Linked DNA regions of Homo sapiens: regions 1 and 3 are each linked to region 2. Evidence: promoter capture Hi-C in human tissues and cell types (Jung and others, 2019). All regions are on one chromosome and are shown on one strand. Each heading gives the region's core, a stretch centred on a gene start or on the middle of the fragment in contact. The rest is flanking DNA. Distances are from core to core; before and after follow the strand shown.

What was found. Contacts are between HindIII fragments. The study calls those that stand out against the background at their distance.
Region 1: a contact is called between a fragment that was not itself captured here and the fragment with the promoter of CASP14 in region 2, in 5 of the 25 tissues and cell types used here (H1 embryonic stem cells, adrenal gland, bladder and 2 more).
Region 3: a contact is called between a fragment that was not itself captured here and the fragment with the promoter of CASP14 in region 2, in 3 of the 25 tissues and cell types used here (mesendoderm cells, pancreas and stomach).

What each region holds. Positions count from the first base shown.
Region 1 is chr19:15,100,976-15,105,030 of GRCh38, forward strand. No RefSeq gene overlaps it. Among named protein-coding and RNA genes, the nearest start is that of SYDE1, 4.4 kb to the right of the region's middle. The HindIII fragment of the contact is 6,045 bases long and covers 1-4,055 here.
Region 2 is chr19:15,046,931-15,051,026 of GRCh38, forward strand. It overlaps CASP14 (caspase 14), which reads left to right and starts at 2,550. Exons shown (of 7, transcript NM_012114.3): 1 at 2,550-2,715. The HindIII fragment of the contact is 29,360 bases long and covers 1-4,096 here.
Region 3 is chr19:15,002,934-15,006,957 of GRCh38, forward strand. It overlaps a transcript of SLC1A6 not described here. Among named protein-coding and RNA genes, the nearest start is that of TEKTL1, 5.8 kb to the right of the region's middle. The HindIII fragment of the contact is 9,530 bases long and covers 1-4,024 here.

The sequences.
Region 1 (4,055 bases), core at 899-3,398, 54 kb after region 2:
TTTCCAAGGGTCAATGGGAGGCTCTGGTCAAGCAATGCTGTACCACTGACTGTCACCCAGGTGAGACTGTGCCCTGCCTCAGGAAGCTGCTTTATGCTAACAGAATTCATAACCATTTCATTATATACAATCATCCCCTCTCCCTCCAGCTCCTGAATGCTACTGTGATGGATATCTCTGGGCAGCCACCCCTTTGCTGGTTCCTCTGAGGTCTGACTTCCAGCCAGGGAGGCCTAGGCAGGCTGAGGTATTCACCTTCTTCTCCTGGAAGATGCCAGATAGACGCAAGCCTCAGGTGTGGAAACAAATGGGAATGACCACAGCGGGTGGAGGAAGCTTGGGTCCTGCTCCCCAAAACCTTCTCTATCTCCCATCCCCCAGGAACTGAGCACCCCAGGGAGCTGGTAGAATGGAGATGTAGCCCCACAGAACCACGCCCCATGCCCATAGCCTTGAAAACAGCCTAATTTATTATTCCCTTTGCACATGAAACAGAGGCCTAGACAGAATGTCTGTGTTTGGAGTCCACCAGAAGCCAACCTTGAGACAAGGATTCAAGTATTTAGGAAATAAACAGGAAATACTGTAAGTGGGGTGGATATGTGGGAGAGGGAAGGGAAGGAAGTCAGCAAAGAGTGTATTGATAACCAGGTTTCTACAGTGGACAGCTGGAGCTCAATCCCGTGGGTGAACACTAGGGGTCAGTGTAGAACATGAACCTCAATCATCCAACACAAGGGTGAGGGAGCTGGGGTATTTATCCATCAATTCCCCTTGACTACCACAGAGGTGCTGAGCTCTGCCCAAAACTGACAGGAAATGGTCTTTTGGTCTTTCAACTAATTGGTCTATATGTGTCTGGGGCTGGTTAATCCACCAGGTACCAAAAGCACAGCACATCAGACCTGCAGCCAATGAGAACATTTAGGGGAAAGAAAACACACACGTGGCCAGGTGCAGTGGCTCACACCTGTAATCCCAGCACTTTGAGAGGCCAAGGAAGAAGGATCGCTTGAGGTCAGGAGTTTGAGACCAGCCTGGGCAACATAGCAAGATCCTGTCTCTACAAAAAAAATTTAAAAGCTAGCTGGGTATGGCAGTGCATGCCTATAGGCCTAGCCACTCAGGAGGCTGAGGCAAGAGGATTGCTTGAACCCAGAAGTTCAAGTCTGCAGTGAGCTATGATCACACCAATGCACACCAGCTTGGGTGACAGAGGGAGATTATGTCTCTAAAAATAATAAGGCCAAGCACGGTGGCTCACACCTGTAATCCCAGCCACTTGGGGGGCCAAAGTGGGAAGATCACTTGAGCCCAGAAGTTTGAGAACAGTCTAGGCAACATGATGAGACCCTATCTCCACAAAAAAATAGAAAAATCAGCCTGTGGCATGGTGGCACATGCCTGTAGTTCCAGTTGCTTGGGAGGCTGAGGCAGGAACATCACTTGAGCCTAGGAGGTTGAGGGTGCAGTGAGTTGTGGTAGTGCCACTGCACTACAGCCTGAGCAACAGAGCAAGAAAAATAAATAAAATAATAATAATAAAGTAAATAAAAATAACATGAAAATAATTTTTAAAAAATTTGAGACAGAGTCTTAGTCACCCAGGCTGGAGTGCAGTGGCACGATCTTGGCTCACTCCAACCTCTACCCTCTGGGTTCAAGCGATTCCCCTGCCTCAGCCTCCCGAGTAGCTGGGATTACAGGTGCCTGCCACCATGCCTAGCTAATTTTTATATTTTTAGTAGAAACGGGGTTTCACCATCTTGGCCAGGCTAGTCTTGAACTCCTGACCTCGTGATCCACCCGCCTCAGCCTCCCAAAGTGCTGGGATTACAGGCATGAGCCACAGTGCCCGGCCATGAAAATAAATTTTTTTAAAAGAAAAGAAAATGGGCCAGGCACGGTGGCTGACCCCTGTAATCTCAGCTCTTTGGGAGGCCAAGGTGGATGGATCACAAGGTCAGGAAATCGAGACCATCCTGGCCAACATGGTGAAACCCCATCTCTACTAAAAATATAAAAATTAGCTGCACGTGGTGGTGTGTGCCTGTAATCCCAGCTACTCAGGAGGCTGAGGCAGCAGCATCGCTTAAACCAGGGAGTCACAGGTTGCAGTAAGCCAAGATCGTGCCACTGCACTCCAGCCTGGGCAACAAAGCAAGACTATGTCTCTATAAAAGAAAAGAAAAGAAAATGTACGCATACAGGCTCTAAAATCTGTACAGCAACTAGCAAAATCCACAGGAATAAGCATACAAACATCATTATGAAACTTAGAATTCATAACCATTTCATTACATACAATTTGCAGATAATCTGTTCTCACTTATGGAAATTTCTGATTGCTAAGAAAGAATCAGAGCCAATGGTGAATTAAATAGGCTACATGCAGGCAAATAAAGACAACAGGAAAAGTACAAAAACTCAAAAAGATTTACACAAAATAATAATAATAAATATTTATGTGGTATGTGGGTGTCATATGGGTGGGGCTAAGGGTTGCTCTCACTCCCATGTCAGACCCCAGCTCCTCTGAGACTCTGAAATACCCCATTGGGACCTTAGTCCTGCAGCCTCTACCCTCAACTTGTAAACAGGTATTGTCTTGACCCCTGACTTCTTTCCCCATTGTCAATAGCTGCCTCAAAGACATCTGCGCAGGGATCTCATAGGGAGGAGGGTGCACTCCACCCTTTTACAGACTGATGCCCCCCAAACACACATATCCAAGAAAAGTGAACAGCACCTAGGAGAACTGTATATCAACAGTTGTATAATGAGTATACCAATATATGCATAATGAGAGTCCCAGAAGGAGAGAAGTGAAAGGAGCAGAAAGAATATTTGATGAGGCTGGGTATGGTGGTTCATGCCTATAATCCCAGCACTTTGGGAGGCCAAGGTGGGCAGATCACTTAAGGTCAGAAATTTGAGACCGGCCTGGCCAACATGACGAAAACCCATCTCTACTAAAAATACAAAAATTAGCTGGGCATGGTGACAGGCACCTGTAACCCCACCTACTTGAGAGGTTGAGGCAGGAGAATCACTTGAACCCAGAAAGCAGAGGTTGCAGTGAGCCAAGACCATGCCTCTGCACTCCAGCCTGGGCAACAGAGTGAGACTCCATCTCAAAAAATAATAATAATAATATTTGATGAAATAATGGCCAAAAAACTTCCCAGAAGCCCAGAATTGATGAAAGACATGAATCTACATATCCACAAAGCTCAACAAACTCCAAGTACAATAAACACAGAGAACCACACAAAGACACATTAAAACCAAACACACACAGCCTCCTCGTCCAGGCCTCTTGGACACCCCCTCCTATACAGACCTCCATCACCTGACACCTGATCTCCTACCTGAATATTCAGCAGTGAACAACATAGACAAGCATCACTTGATCACTTGGTGGAGACCCAGTCTGGACGAGGAGGCAGATAAACTAGAACAAACCACTGGGACTGTTAAATTCAAGTTGTGGCAAGTGTTAGAAGAAAGGAAACTGAGTAATGTGATACTGACTAGACAGAGGTGGTGGACAGAAAGGGTCTCCCTAGAAGGTGCCATTGGACCTAAAGGATGAGAGAGAGGTGGCCTCAGAAGAACCAGGGCTTCCCAGGCAGAAGGAACCATGTGTGCAAAGGACCTGAGGCAGAAATAGCTTGATATGAAGGAGAACCAGAAAGGAGGCCATGGTGAGTGAATGGGACAGCCAAAGAGATGAGGCTGGAAGTCTTGTGAGACCATGCTGGGAATCTGAATTTTATTCTAGGTGAGGTGAGCAGTCATAGGAACACTATTCAGCAGGATGGTGCCACAATCTGATTTCAGTTTTAAGTCCACTGTGGGTAATATATGGAGAATGAAATGTAGGGCTAAGACAGGTTATATTTTCCCAGATGGCCACAATATCTCCCACCCTACATCCACTTGTACAATGTCACCTTGACATGCCTCCCATGTAGAGAGGTATAATCTGTGCCCCCTTTCCTTGAATCTGGTGGCAGAAGTGACACAGCATGACACTCAAGGCTGGGTCAGAA
Region 2 (4,096 bases), core at 1,300-3,799:
TGGGCAACTTAGTGAGACCCTGTCTCAAAAAAAAATCCACATAAAACTTGTACATAAATATGTATAACAGCATCCTTCAAATAGCCAAAAGCCTAACACAACTGAAATGTTCCTCCACAGATGAATAAATAAACAAAATGAGGTATATCTGTACAATGGACTATTATTCAGTCAGAAAAAGGGATGAAGTTCTAATATATGCTACCATGTGGATGCTATCTTCCTCCTCCTTGAAATCTCATTGATTTATAGGATCTGGTCAGCTAAGAAGGCTGGATCTTAGGGGAAGGAATTGGAATGGGAGTGTCTGCAATGGTTTGCTGAAAGACATCTAACACTTGGCTCTCTAAAAACCAAAACAAAATGAAACAGGAGACAACAAACCAACATCCCTGCAATACTGTTCTTGAAAACATCATGCTGAATGAAAGAAGCCAGACACAAAAATCACATAGTGTATGATTCTATTTCTGTGAAATATCCAGAACAGGGAAACCTGCAGAGACAGAAACTCGGCTAGTGGTTGCCTAAGGCTGGGATGTATGGAGAGATTGGGAGTGATAGCTAAAGGGTACTGGGATTCTTTTGGGGGGTGATAAAAATGTTCTAAAATGAGCCAGGTGTGGTGGCCCGCGCCTGTAATCTCACACTTTGGGAGGCCGAGTGGGGAGGATCCCTTGAGGCCAGAAGTTCGAGACCAGCCTGGGCAACACAGCAAGACTTTGTCTCTACAAAAAATCTTGAGGAAAAAAGTAGCAAGGCATGTACGTGCACACCTGTAGTCCCAGCTGCCCAGGAGGCTGAGGTGGAAGGATCGAATAAGCCCAGGAGTTTTAAGCTGCAGTGAGCTGTGATCGCTCCACTGCACTCCAGCCTGGGTGACAGATCTTATCTCCGAAAAAAGAAAAAACAAAATGTTCCAAAATGAACTGACGCAATGGTTGCATCACTGTGAATATATTGAAACCCACTGGATTGCACACTTCAGGTGGGTGAATTGTATAATACGTAAATTATATCTCATTTAAGCTGTTGCTATCGAACCGAGTTTGTTCTTCCTCTGTGCAGCAAGCCAATCAATGTAATGACAGATTTTGCAGAAGAGGAAGAGTTCGTTCATGAGGCAATTAAGCGACGAGGTGGTAAAACAGGTCTCAAATTCTCCTCCCCAAAAATAGGGTTTGAGGGTGCTTATGGGATAGAAAACGGGGTGATCTAAAGTACGGAGAAAGGTGACTGGCAGGTAGGGAAGGTGAGGTAATCAGAATTTCTGAGCAAGCATGGTTGAGCTACATGGCTTTAGATAGGACATTTGTGCAAAAAATAGCATTTAGCATGATCTGAAGGTGGAGTTTACGGCCCTCTGATATCAGCTACCCACATAGGTGCAGTTGAAGGGTCAGTGATCTCCACTGGCTTAAACTAAACAAGAGCTGCCTCCTACCTAGTTCCTGAAAAACAACTTTAAGCACCCATTACTATAGTGTCCCACAGACAAAAATGTTATCTGTAAGGAAGCCAGTGGGAGTTTAGTTATGCATTATTTGGCTACGTGACTTGCTAGTGGCGCTTTTAAGATCAACTATAAGTAAGCAATTAAAAGTAAGTAAGCAATTAAACGCAAGGCAGATTAAGTCTGGAGGGCTTAATCAGGTTCGCCTTTGGTTTCACTATTAACATAAGAAATAAAATGAAACAAAATGGCTGAAAAATAATAAGAGGAGGAGGAAGAGAGGAATCATCATGATGCATCAGTTAAGGCAACTGGGCTGGAACATTTTAGGGGTTGTTTGTTTGTTTTTATATTTAAGACAGAGTCTTGCTCTGTCACCCAGGCTGGAGTGCAGAGGCACAATCTTAGCTCGCTGCAGCCTCAAACTCCTAGGCTCAAGCCAGCCTCCTACCTCAGCCTCCTGAGTAGCTAGGACTATAGGTATATGCCATCATTTTTATTATTATTATTATTTTAGTGACAGGGTCTCACTATGCCCCGGCTGGTCTCAAACTCCTCACCTCAAGCGATCCTCCTGCCTTGGCCTCCCAAAGCGCTGGGACTACAGACGTGACCCACCACACCTCACCCCTTATAGGGTTGAATGCCAACTGTGCCAATTGCTGACCTTGGGCAGTCATTTCACCTCTATGAGCCTCAGTTTCTCCATCTGCAAAATGGGAGCAAAAATACTGATCTGTCTAGACTCTTGAAGACTCGATGAGATAATAACTAAGTGAAGTCGGTGTTATCTACACAGTGGAAGGTGAGATGAATAAACTAGGCATAATGATGATGGTAATAACCAGATGGGCTGGCTATGGGATGGGGGTTGGGAGAGGTTGTGGCTGGGCTGGCACAGACATCTGACTCATTTAGACTCTCTGCCTAGGCCACCTTTGCCAGAGGGAGTCCCCTCAGCCTTGCGATCACTCATCCCATTGGCGTTGGCTCCATTTCCACACCACAGCTGTGTGCCAAGGGTGTGTCATGAGGTTTCTTGAGTGACAGAAAACTCACCGACAATAAAGGGCCAGGTGATTGTGCCACCCGATTCATAGACCAGGCTTCTCAGGAGAAACCCCGGGAGATTCCACACTGTCAGCCCCTTCTCCAAGATCAGTACGTGGGCCTGACTCCTCCTCGGTGCCCAGCTCAGTATTGGCAACTAGGAGAGTAGTGAGATTGAACTTGGCCTTGAGGAACAGCTGCCTCTAGAGTTGGTAAGTGATTTGGTGGATATTAGCCTCTCTCTCTCTCTCTCTCTCTCTCTCTCACACACACACACACACACACACACACACACACACGCACATACACACATACGCTCCCTCTCCCTTCATGAATTAATGCTCTGGCCAGTTTTGGCAGAATGGAAGAAATTTCCATCCATCCCCTCTTTCTTTTCATCTGTTCATTTTTTTCTTATTTGTTTACTCAGCAAATTCTCTCCAACACCACCTCTGTGCTCCCTGCCACACTGTTGGCCATGATGGAGACAGAGATAATGAAGTCAGGCTTTCAGTCCTGAAAACTGAGCTGCCAGTTCAGCCATGAGAGTAAGAATCAAAAACACTGCTGTAATTCAAGTAGGAGCAAGCAGAGCTGTGAGAGTCCAGAGAAGGAAGAGGAAAGTTCCAGGAGGTCAAGAGGGATCCTAAAACCTACCTGGGTCACCATTGCTGTTAAGCACCTAGAGCTCTCCCCAGGTCCTTTGCGGATGGGAAAATCGAGTCTCAGAGAGGAGAGTGAGATGCCGAAGGTCACACAGCTGGGAAGGGACTGAGGCAGGATTCGGTTCTGGCTCCAGGGCTATGCTCCTTCCACTTCCTCCCTCACAATCTTTGGCTCCTCTTTCGTCACAGCACTTGCTGTGTGTGTGTGTGAGTGTGTGTGTGTGAGAGAGAGAGAGAGAGAGAGAGATTTAATATTCATTTCTGTCACAGACTAGAGCTACAGAAGGACAGAAAGTCAGGGAGCATGTCTGTCTTACTTAATGGATTCTAAGTGCATAACACATAATAGATACCCAGAAAATATTTGCTGGGTAGGTGGGTGGGTGGGTGGATGGATTGATGGATGGATGGATGGATGGGTGGGTGGGTAGATGGATAAGTAAATAGGTGGATGGATAGATGGAAGATAGAGATGATGGATGAAGGAATGGATAGAAGGAGGGCTAGATGGAGGGATAGTTGGAAGATAGAATAGATGGAGGGATGGAAGACAGAGAGAGATAATGGATGAATGGATGGATGGATGGATGAATGAATGAGTGGTTGGATGAATAAGTGGATGGATAGATAGATGGATGGGTAGATAAATGGGTTGATGGAAGAATGAATGGGTATATGGGATGACTGATTAATAGATGGGTAGACAGACGGATGAATAGATGTGTGAGTGGGTGGATGGATGGATGGATGAGTGGATAGATAGGTAAGTGGAAAGATAAATTGGTGGATGGGTTGATGAATAAAAGGATGGATGTTAAATTGGATTGATGGATGACTAGATAGATGTGCGGGTGGAAGGATGGGTGGATGGGATGACTGATTAATAGATAAGTAGATGGACAGATGAATAGATGGAAGGGTGAGTGGG
Region 3 (4,024 bases), core at 459-2,958, 45 kb before region 2:
TTTCATTTTTGTCTTTTTGTTTTTTGTGGGATGTTGTTGTTGTTGTTGTTGTTATTTTGTTTTTTGTAATAGAGTCTCTGTCTCACCCAGGCTAGAGCACAGTGGCACAATCTCAGCTCACTGCAACCTCCGCCCCCCGGGTTCAAGCGATTCTCATGACTCAGCCTCTTGAGTAGCTGGGATTACAGGCATGTGCCACCACGCCCAGCTAATTTTTGCATTTTTGTACAGATGGGGTTTCACCATGTTGGCCAGGCTGGTCTCGAACTCCTGGCCTCAACTGATCTGCCTACCTCAGCCTCCCAAAGTGCTGGGATTACAGGCATAAGCCACCGTGCCTGGCCTGCCTGAGTCATTTTGAGGGACTGACCAGGGGTACAGCCATAGACACAGGTCCTTGTCACTCACTGACCAGCAAGGTCACTGCCTTTGCAGGAGATGACAGGGAAGAACCAGGAAGCACCTCCTCTCCCAGCCTGGGGCTTCCCACCATCTCCTGACACCTCCACCAGAAAAGCGACCTCATTTCTCAAAGACAAAACAGATTCTAGGTCATATCCCCCTGGAATGAGAGACCAATTGATGTGATTATCTCCAAGAGAAAGAGGGGCACCTACTAAAAGTAGAACCTGGTGTCCCAGAAGGGAAGACATCGGGGAACCTAAAAAGGGGTCTCTGATAATTACCTGCCAAGATTTCACAGCGAAGGGCATCTCCATGTAATGCCAAAAAAAAAAAAAAGAAAGAAAAGAAAAGAAAAAAGGCTAGAAGTTTTAGAAGGTGCTCCTTCTTCATCCATTCTGCAATTTCACTCGATTTCGCCCAAAAGCAGAATTCTGCTCCCTACATTGCATGAATCAGTATATAGAACAGGTGGCCCCAGCAAAGTTGCAAAAAGGAATTTCTATAAAGTGTTCTTTATTATAAAAATCAAGAGAGCTGCCAGGTGTGGTGGTTCATGCCTGTAATCCTAGCACTTTGGGAGGCCAAGCCGGGTGGATTGCCTGAGCTCAGGAGCTCGAGACCAACCTGGGCAACATGGAGAAACCCCATCTCTATTAAAATACAAAAAATTAGCTGGGCGTGGTGGTGGGCCCCTGTAGTCCCAGCTACTCAGCAGGCTGAGGCAGGAGAATTGCTTGAACCCAGGAGGAGGAGGTTGCAGTGAGCCAAGATCACACCACTGCACTCCAGCGTGAGCAACAGAGCAAGACTCTGTCTCTAAAAAAATTAATAATGCATAAATAAAATAAATAAAAATCAGAGAGCTAATTTCACAAAGAAATATAACTCCCTATTGGCCTGAGTTAGAAGTATTTGGGCTTCAGTATATTGGGAGAAGGGAAATATGTATAGTTGTGTATATGCATGCACACATACACACACACACACAGAGGCATGGTGGGGGAATGAATGTGGAAATGGTTAGAGTGAAATCAAGATCAAGTTCAGAATAAGTATCTCTGGATAGTAAAACAAAAAATAAGGCTGGCCATGGTGGCTTGTGGCCATAATCCCAGCACTTTGAGAGGGTGAGGCAGGAGGATGGCTTGAAGCCAGGAGTTCAAGACCCAGACTGGGCAACATAGCAAGACCTCACCTCTACAAAAAAAAAAAAAAGTCAATTGTGATGGCATGCACCTGTAGTTCCAGCTATTCAGGAGGCTGAAGCAAGAGATCTCTTGAGACCAGGAGTTGGAGGCTTTAGTGAGCCAAGATTGTGCCACTTCATTTCAGCCTGGGTGACAGAGTGAGACTCTGTCTCCAGAAAAAAAAAAAAGATTCTTATTCATTTCATTATGTTTCCCATATTTTATACATTTTATACAAGGTGCATACCTTGCTTTCATAGCTTATTTGTTAGTTTAAGAGAGGTATTTAGGCTTGGAGAGTACTGAAAAATTTTCCTAGTCCTCGGTCTTGTGTACATAATGTTTCTGTAGATTTTTTGAACATCACTGTTTCTGTTCAGACACACGCAGGTGAATCACTTGGAAAATGAGAGCTAATCCCAGCCCAGCAATGAATGGTTCCTTCCAGACAGGCCAGGCACAGTTGCTCACATCTGAAACCCCAGAGCTTTGGTAGGCCAAGGCGGGAGGATTGTTTGAGTCCAGGAGTTTGAGACTAGCCTGGGCAACATAGCAAGATCGTGTCTCTACAAAAACATTTTTAAATTAGCCAGGCATGGTAGCACATGCCCATAGGGCCAGCTACCCAGGAGGCTGAGGCAGGAGGATTGTTTAAGCCCAGGAGTTCAAAGTTGCAGTGAGCCATGATGGTACCACTGTACTCTACTCTGGGTGACAAAGCAAGACCCTGTCTCAAAAAAAAAAAAAAAAAAGCAGGGCACGGTGGCGGTCAGGAGTTCACGAATAGCCTGGCCAACAATGGTGAACAAATTGTTCTACTAAAAATACAAAAAATTAGCTGGGCGTGGTGGTGGGCATCTGTAATCCCAGCTACTCAGAAGGCTGAGGCAGGAGAATCACTTGAACCTGGGAGGCGTAGGTTGCAGTGAACCGAGATCGCGCCACTGCACTCCAGCCTGGGCAACAAGAGTGAAACTCCTTCTCACAAAAACAAAAAAACAAAAAAACCAGATAACTCACCTGTTCTTCAAATACATATCAGGCTAGAGAAGTGTCCAAAATGGGTCATCAAAGCCAGGAGCTAGCAGTGAGTTTTTGGAAGTTGATATAGAGAATGGAAACTGGGATTGGGAGATGGAAATGAGAAGTTGGTCTGATTAAGCAATGGTCTGCACCAATTTCAATGCTTAGATAATAGTATCATATACTAGCAGCGTGTTGGTGTCAGCGTGTTAAACTAATAAAAAGCCAGAATGTAACAGCCTGCATAGCCCTAATGCATTTCACCAGAGAGCCATGTGGAAGCCAAAATCCTCACATGCAGATCTGGCATGAGGAAGCTTCCTAAGCGTCTCTCAGGTAGCTTGGTACAAGTTCTGCCCAACAGAGGTGCTTCATACACCAGGCAGCAAGCCTACCCAAATGAGATCCCCTGGTTGGGAAGGTGGACGTACTTCATGAACAAAGCAAAGGTAGATGGTTGTGTGCAGGTCATCTCACATGAGGTGTCTCCCTGGTTCTTTGTGAAACCCTCTCTGGACCTCTTCTGGTTTTGAAATAGCTCATTCATGGATTCATTCTATTAATAAAAGTCAAAAGTAAACACTTACATAATGCTTACTAGGTGTCAGCCATGGTGCTAAGCACTTCATTCATATTAACTCATTGTCTCCATGCCACAATCCTATTACCTGAGTTGACAGATGGGGCAACGCAGGCACAGAGATGTTAAGTGAATTGCTCGAGATCACGTAGACAGCAAGTGGCAGAATCATAATTTGAATCCTAGTTCATCTGGATCCAGAATACAGACCATAATATCCTCCTGATGCTCATGAAAATTTGTTGAACCAGATACCACTGGTCCCAGCAGCAAATGACTGTGCTAACCCCATATTCCCAAGCCTCCATCGCCAAAGGTTATCTGGCCCCATTTCTTGCTAGTGGCCCTAAAGAACATAACGGCGGGTCTCCAGGATGGCTGGCGTGGGAGTCGCTGGTTGCCCATCTTATTCCCCCCACCCCCCATTACTGAATGATCCCTTGATTACAAACCCAGGGTCATTCATTCTTTCTTGACTGTCGCACCTCTCATTCACTCAATACGAAAATATTTGGACAGGCACGGTGGCTCATGCCTGTAATCCCAGCACCTTTGTAGGCCGAGGCAGGAGAATTACTTAAGGCCAGGAGACCAAGACCAGCCAGGGAAAGATAGCAAGACCCTGTCTCTACAAAAAAAAAAAAAGAAAAAGAAAAGAAAAGAAAATTTAAAAATAAGCTATGCATGGTGGCACATGCCCGTAGTCCTAGATACTTAGGAGGCTGAGAGTGAGAGGATCCCTTGAGTCCAGGAGGTTGAGGCTGCAGTGAGCCATGATCGTGCTACTGCACTCCAGCCTGGGTGACAGAGTGTGATCCTGTCTGAAAAA